Regions from separate parts of the Homo sapiens genome. Here region 2 is linked to region 1. The links are contacts of gene promoters, found by promoter capture Hi-C in human tissues and cell types (Jung and others, 2019). All regions are on one chromosome and are shown on one strand. The core of a region is centred on a gene start or on the middle of the fragment in contact, and the rest is flanking DNA. Distances in the headings are between cores, read along the strand shown.

Region 1 (4,158 bases), core at 189-2,688:
AGCATATCAGAAAGCCATTCAATTTCCTTTACAATGCTGATTAAAGCCTTCATTTTAATCTTCATTATAAATGGAGGACATTAATCCCTAAGCTGTTTTTAAACAATTAATAGTAACCTTCTTCAACCCTATCCATGATTTCCCTGAAAAGCAATAGTTGAGTTCTATTTATTCAGTGTAATGGACTGGCATTTCATTTTAAATAAAACCATATAAGCATGTCTCTATGTGAGATATAAATGTTACACTCATCTATGTACATAATGCTATGTCGTGGAGAAATTACAGTAGTAAAATAATGCAGTCTTTAGCAATGTCATTTTGAAGTAAATGATAAAAAGAGTAGATGCTTGAACCACCTTAGAAAACAAATTACTATACTTTCTAGAACAATCAAAGCATTGGGTTTAATATCTCATTCTGCTGAAATAGCTTATAGAATCATAAATAGCTGATGCACAGTTCCTGTAATTAAGATTAGGCAGTTAAGAACAGTAAATCAAAGTTTCTTTGGGGTCCATTTTGAGAAAGTAATATAGATTTTTGTCATTTGCATGGCTTTATAGTAAAGTTAAAAAAACATACACAACTACACATACTGACTTCTGGAGTAGACGCTCGGTGACTTCTTTCCGGTGTGATAACTTTTTTGGGTTGTGCGATGGGAAGGTATCGAGTATCTGTAGCTACTGCTCTTTTCGTTGCAACAAAAAACGCAGCAGAACAGAGCTCCTCCAACAATCAGCACCAGTGCCGTGGTCCATCCTAAGTAGAGAGCTTCTCCAAGCTCACGTTTTTGGGCAACATTCACTATTGAGTTATAGAAATCTCTGATGATGGCATTGGCAACCCAGCTCACAGGGATGAGCACCACCATGCCCGTGATGATGAAGATGATTCCAGCCGTCAGCAGAATGTGAGCCTTCACCTTCTCATTGTCCCCCGTGCACCTGGTGCATTTCATGCCAAGGATGGCCATCATGAAAGCCAAGAAGGACATCACGGAAGCAGCACACATCAGTCCTCTGGCTGCCTGTAGGTCCGGAGAAAGAGCCAGCAGGGAATCATAGATTTTGCACTGCATCCTGATGTTAGCCTGCCTCACGCAATTCATCCACAGTCCTTCCCAGAAGTTTTCAAAAACCACGATGTTGTTTTCAATGAAGGCCGACACTCTCCACTGAGGCATGACAGTGACAGCCACTGTGCCCACCATTCCAACACCACCAAGAAACAGCCCAGCGATTTCTAAGGCATGGGTTGCCATTATCCTCTGGGATGAGTTTTAGCCAGCTGGACTCCGGAACTGCTACTTCTGCTTTGAAGCAGGGTTCTCTGTGCCACAGAAGAGAACAGTTTTTCCTGTAGTAATGAACTCGGAACCCAGTGGTTTTTCAAATAAGAGCTGCTTTGCTACTTCTGGCCAGATAGTATCCAGTGCTGGCTGGCTGAGATGGCCCTGCTATTGGCTGCAACAGGTAAACTTACAAATCAGGTGTGGCAACTTTCTCAGCCAATAAAAGGTGGATGGTAATCCAGGTGTGTCTAAACCAACACTTGGGTACTTGGAACAGCTAGACCTGCACATAAACATTCTTTATACTTCTCGGTCTTCCAAGAAGACAGCAGTATGTTTACCTGTAGGCATAGTTATAAGTGGTTGCATAAGCATCAAGAAATGAGCCGATCCCTTGTAATGTGAAAGGTGCACCTTGTACAGGCAATTCTGAAACTCTTAATAAGAGCTGCTGGGACCAAGGGATAAAATAAATTATCTGCCGAAGAATTCTGCAACGCTGTTGAAATGCCAAAGTGAAACGAGAGTAGGGGATTGAAAGATTGCTTTTACCTGGGAAGCCACATTCTTTGGGACACATGTGATCCAAGTGATTGATTTAATTTTTCTACAACTTCAAAGCAAGCTCTACTGTGGTGAAATCAGGGAACAGATCATGCCAGAGGACAAAATAAGCTAAAGTAATTAAATACACAAGGCTGTCCTTCTCCTTGGCACTGAAAACATATTGGAGTTCTTTAAGCCAGAAAAAATACTCATTGACACTTTTCTGATAATCTTCACTTATAAAAACATTTTTTGCCAAAATAAAAATCACCAGATGATTATCTTATGTATCCAGCACTATAGCATTAAAATAAGCTTATGAGCTTATTTTGTGGTGTTATTCTTGCTGCTTTGAATTCCTGGGCTGAAGGAACTAGAATTCTGAAGATGACACAAGACCCTTGGGCCTATACAAATGGCTGATATTTCAAAATAAGATATTTACAAGACAAGGGAACTATATTTACCAAACTGTATTATATTAGGTATTAACCAAATATGTTTTCCTACCTTTTAATATTATGTCTGCAGTAGGACATAGAAACCCCTAAACGCAAGACAATTTGAACTTTCTTCTCAAAATAATGATGCTCTAACAGTAGTGCTATACTAAGCATAAATGTTTATCTGAGAAAATTCGACTAGCAATTTTCTTCTGGAGATCACCTTAAGCTCTCTGTCTGATCTTTCCAAAGTTTAAGCTGCCACTTCATTTTCTTTTCTTCTTAACATCATAAAAAATGATTTTCTCTTTACAGTTTTACTTTCTCTCTGTTTCATTGGACTACCTTAAATCCAAATATGGGAGAAAATCGTTTCTGCTCACTGATTAAACTTTGAGAGTTTCATGGTTCAAAAAATCTGAGTCATTTGTGGATATTATTAAAACAAAAACTATATGGTAGAAAGGGCAAAAGGAGGATCAAGTAGACTGTCTTCTAAAAAAGAGGCAGGACAGACGCACAGTAGTATGAGTTGTTATAATTTTGTTAAACAGACGTTATAAACCTTATAAAAAGTTAAAACTTAATATTTACAGAAATATTCTCATTTGTTGACCTGTGAGGTGCCAAACTTCAGGGTGTCCCTTAGGCTGATGCAGAAAATATGCAGCATTTGGCCGGGGCGGTGGCTCACGCCTGTAATCCCAGCACTTTGGGAGGCCGAGACGGGCAGATCAAGAGGTCAAGAGATCGAGACCATCCTGGCTAACACGGTGAAACCCCGTCTCTACTAAAAATACAAAAAATTAGCCTGGCATGGTGGCGGGCGCCTGCAGTCCCAGCTACTCGGGAGGCTGAGGCAGGAGAATGGCATGAACCCAGGAGGCAGATCTTGCAGTGAGCCGAGATCGCGCCACTGCACTCCAGCCTGGGTGACAGAGCAAGACTCTGTCTCAAAAAAAAAAAAAAAAAAGAAAAGAAAATATATGACATTTTCTTCATCAAGTTTCTATCAGTTACAGATTTGTGGTGGAGGGAGACTTAGATTAATCTTGGGAAAATAAGATTTTAAAAGTTGAGATTTTAAACTTTCAAAGTTTAAGAAGTGAGCAGAAAACATTTTCTCCCATATTTGGATTTAAGGTAGCCCGATGAAGCAGAGAGAAAGTAAAATTTCAAAGAAAGGATCATTTTTATGATGTGAAGAAGAAAAGAAAATGAAGTAAAGCTTAAAGATTTTCCTTTTGTGCAATCCACAAAAGGAAAAATGACATATAAACAGAAGATATTTTTCATCTTTAATTGTCAAACTGGGAAAAAGGAGTGATTGACAGAACTGAAAAATGAAAAAGAAATAATATAACTGGTTGAGATAATGACTACGTGAAGCTACATTTTAAGGGATGTCAAGGCATATATTGCTTCATTGAAATTTCTTTTCGAATTCCCGTGTGGCATGTTTCTTAGGAGCTCTGTTTAAATATTGCTGACTATCCACATCAACACAGGAACGCATGAGACAGAAGCAGAAAGCTCTGCCTCTGAGTGCCTCAGCCGTTGTGGGAGCTGCTTCCCAGGTACGCATTCATATTTCTTGGCTTTGTGTATTACCAAACCTCTCTTCCCTTGAGGCTTGAATTTTACCAGGAACTTATTTTACATAAAAATATTTTCCTTATTTCAAAAATATTAGGTACTTTACTATTGAAATTGTTCTAGCCAAAAGATGAGGATCTGAGTGGGAAATTAACACTAGGTTCACATTAGAATTATTGTACAGTTAATTCCCTACTAGGAAGTGGCCCAGGGTTTCCAAATAGGTTCCTTATCAGACAATGATACAGTTAACTCCATAGTATTTATAAATAACCA
Region 2 (4,101 bases), core at 435-2,934, 170 kb before region 1:
TTGTTCAGAGCCTCAAGATCAGCCAGAGGTGGGAGATTAATGCACATGATTTCCTGGGCACCTGTGCATGGGCTTTGAGATTTCCAGGAATACAGAGAATCTTTGTCCAGCCTCTTTGCCCAGTTGGCATCACTGCATTAGGCAGCTGCAATGTTAAGCAATTGCTGATGGATTTTTTTTTTAAACAAATTCCCTCAGATAAAACTTTTCTCACTGAACAAGCTCAGGTCAAGTATAGACCAACTCCATGAATGCAACCTTTGCAAAAAGCGTGAAAATAGTGTTGATTTTCTGGAGATAGGGCTTTTGGGAGCTTCAAGCTCATTCTAACTCGCACTCACCCTGTTACTGTTATTTTTCCTAGCTACCATGATTGTGAGGATTCTGGTTTTTAGGGCTTTCATGGAATTAGGAAAAGAGGAATAGAGCAAGTGCAAACCTCACAGAGCTCATTGTTATTTATAACATTAAGCTGTTTTTCTTGAATAAAGCTGCTCATAGTGTTGCAAACATTTGGATAATTTCCACAGCTCCCAAATACTTGATTTTGATAAAGTTTTATAGTGACCTTTTTGCTTTTATGCAGTGGATTTTTGGAGTTCCTTGTATGTCTACCAACTCTTTAGTTCCTTGTATTTATCGCTTTTCATTGACCATATTCAGCTCACTTAATCGAATAAGCATAGCTGCTTCATTAATTAGGGTTCAGTGGTTCTTGGAATCTATACATATTTCCACTGTGATGCCATAATAGCTTTAGTTTCTTATTTTTTACGTTATTCATTGAGCTCATACCAACTATCCTTACCTTTCCTAGTAATATCCAAAAATGGCATGGTCTTCTTGGGAACAAGACAAACTCCCAGTTGTCTTAAATTCACCTTTATTTTGACTTCTCTATTAGCAGTTACATTTTGTTATGTAAGCTGCATTTCATATATATGCTTGACAATTCACACTGCAGGGAGAGCTTCATTATTTTTCCATTTCCATAGAAATGGCCATCACCACTAATTTACAAAGGAAAATACTCTCCAGCCTTATTTATTATTGACAGTGGTTAATCAGGAGTAAACTAATTTTTGAACCAGTAGCCAAAGGCTTATGTGACATCATAATCTTGAAGTAAAGTGCAAATAATGTAGTTTATAGTGTTTATTATAAACCAGTATGCTTTTTTGCCCCTTTTCCTTAAATTGACCATTATAGAAGTTGCAAACCTTCTTGCTATTTTTCAGTAGTTGCCTAAAATAAACATCCCCCATCCTTCTTGTTTTCCCTCTCTCTTTTGTCTCAGCATTCTTTGTTTACTTTCCCAATAATATTTTAACCTAAGAGTACTAAGTCACTAATTTCAATAGCTGCAGTGCTGCTTTATTCCACAAGAGGGCACTCAAATGGCTTTCTTTCTGTGATATTCTAATTTCCCACTTTTTTCATATTGTTTGTTTTCCACAGTGGACTTTGAGGACAGATCTATCCCAGAGTCCTCCACTAAAACCAAGAAGATACATATATACTTATAAATGTAGTTAATTTCTTGGAAACATTGAAGATTTATATGTTCTAGAAATCAGAAGGTGAAAAGGAAGAGATTGAGATAGACCAGTGTTTTATCCATGACAATTCCACCTGCTTTCTCAGGGAAGGCTTTGGACTGCTAGCAGACATGACTCCTGAAAAGAAGGCGAAGCACCTGGAATATCTCATATGCCTATTCGATCATTTCCAAACTAAATGAAGCAAGTAAAACTTTTAAAAAAACAAAGCTTAGGCCGGGAGTGGTGGCTCATACCTAATCCAGCATTTTGAGAGGCCAAGGCATGAGGATCACTTGAGACCAGGAGCTCGAGACCAGACTGGGCAACATGGTGAGATCCCCTCTCTATTAAAAATCATCATCATCATCATCATCATTAAACTAGAAAAAAATAAAACTGAAAAAAAAATTCAAATAGGTGAATGCTTGAGATGACTGTACAGAGATGATAAATAACAATACCTGAGTTTTGTCAGAATAACAGGTAGATAACATATTAAGAAAAGATTTGATTTGCTGGAATTAAGATGGCAGAAAAAAATGGACACATTGTTTTTATTATGTAAAATATTACAGTATACAGCTACTACTAGAAAGTAGATGAGCAAACCTTAATCCAACTAGAGATGATTAAAATAGTTTTGTTTTTCTATAAATGTAGCCTGATGTGAGGGGGTAAGAAATGGAGTAGGGAAGTGAGTATTGAAAGGATGAGACATGTACTCTTCAGTCATCTTAGAAACTCTATGTATTTTTCTGACTTTATGAGAATTTTCCTGGCCTGCCTGGTAAGAGAACAAACATTATAAATGTCAAATCAGGCAATATTCTAATTTGAAGATAACCAGGATTGATTATAGAAGAAGAATGCCTATTTTTTTTTTTTAGCGAATATTGCAGAGTAGAAGTAAACTCTGGCACAGAATTGCCTTCGTAGCTTTTATATTACACCCAAAGAATTTTGGTGGAAGCCACTATCCCTTAATTTTGAATGGATTCTGATAATACCAGAATCTATGACTATTTGATAACTCTCTAACTACTAGGAGCAAAGAGCTATATCATCATCTTGCAAGATTATCCTGCAAAGCAAATGTAATATTAAAATTTTGCTTATTAGATGTAATTTTGGGTGTCTTTTCCTTTCATTTTATGCCTTTATCTTGGTCCATAACGATTGGATGGTAGCTTTCTAAAACAGCTATTTTAATCACTATCATTGATGCTTCTTGAGCAACCAGCTAGTATGTTAATAAAGAAGATCATTTTCCTAAATAGAGCCAATGAGTGAAAGGTGAAAATTATCTATGGCTGAGTGAGTTAGAAATCACTATCATTTGATAGATTGCCTTTGGACATTTTGTTTTTGTAAGTCTTTTTGAAAAATGTAATATCACTTTGGGGCAATGGAATTGATAGTTTTAATAAAACTATTAAAGACTACTTATGTCTTTATATACATTTCTAAACGGAAAAATAAGAAACATTTAACTGCTTTGTGAATAATATTGACTTATAGTTTTTTGAATATGTAGGAAAAAAGTGAAGAAAGAGTACATATTTGTTTTACCACATATTTTTTTTACTGAGCATCCGAAAGACCTGTTCCACATCTGTTATTTTTCAGTCATCTGTGCTTCCCATTTGAGTTTTCCTAGCAGCATCTGGAGGGGTAGGGAGAATCAAAGTGGTCTCCTTGGTAGCTGATCATCCTGCTATTGCAGGTTGGCAAATTCTCTGCATCAAGCCAAAACACAAAAACCAATTATGAAGTCTGCAGATATTTTATGTCCAGCTGTTTGAAACACATATGGCATTTATTCTATTCAGGGTACTGCTTAATTCATAGTGTGACACGTGGTTTGTTTGACAAATATCTAGACCTAGACCATATTTTCAAGTCTCTACATCTTTGGAGGCATTTTTAAAATACATTCACCATTTCTGAAATTAATTAACAAAAGAGCAAAATAGCCCCAAAGACATCTATGTCTGTGTGTATGGGTATGTATGTGTATGTGTATGTGTATGTGTATGTGTATGTGTGTGTCTGAAGTAATTAGAATTTAGTAAAAACATTATTCCACCATTACTTTGTGTTTCTTTTTAATGCCTTATATCCTTCCCTCAAAAAAATTTATGAATGCCACTCAAGAGTAAGTGGAGTTTTAATATTATCTCATTGCCTGCAAGGTCCAGTATAACTTAAGAGAGAGGAAATTAATCTTTGAGGTTAAGTTTACTTACCATTTGATGTCAGTGTTGTGCTATAAGAACAAAATTAATAGGGGTAGGAGGGTGTTGCTGAGGGCTATGGGAATAAGCTACTAGGGAACAAGGTTAATTTTAATGTGAAAGGTCATCAGCTTTGGATAACTCATCAAAATCTAAAAACACAGGTTTTCTAGTACGGCAGTTCTTTTATACGAAGTCAACCATCATATCCAACTACCTCTCATTTAAATTCAGAACTTGACACTTGTCAAACACAAGATGATCTTTCTTTTTTCTTTTTACTTTTCAAATGAAAGAAGCTGTGTTAAGGTGCTTGCTAATCTTAG

Evidence for each region. Contacts are between HindIII fragments. The study calls those that stand out against the background at their distance.
Region 2: a contact is called between a fragment that was not itself captured here and the fragment with the promoter of CLDN8 in region 1, in 4 of the 25 tissues and cell types used here (heart left ventricle, liver, mesendoderm cells and 1 more).

What each region holds. Positions count from the first base shown.
Region 1 is chr21:30,214,659-30,218,816 of GRCh38, forward strand. CLDN8 (claudin 8) reads right to left here and starts at 1,439. Exons shown (of 1, transcript NM_199328.3): 1 at 1-1,439. The coding sequence starts at 1,267. The coding sequence ends at 590. The HindIII fragment of the contact is 13,225 bases long and covers 1-2,836 here.
Region 2 is chr21:30,043,277-30,047,377 of GRCh38, forward strand. No RefSeq gene overlaps it. Among named protein-coding and RNA genes, the nearest start is that of GRIK1, 110 kb to the left of the region's middle. The HindIII fragment of the contact is 6,828 bases long and covers 1-4,101 here.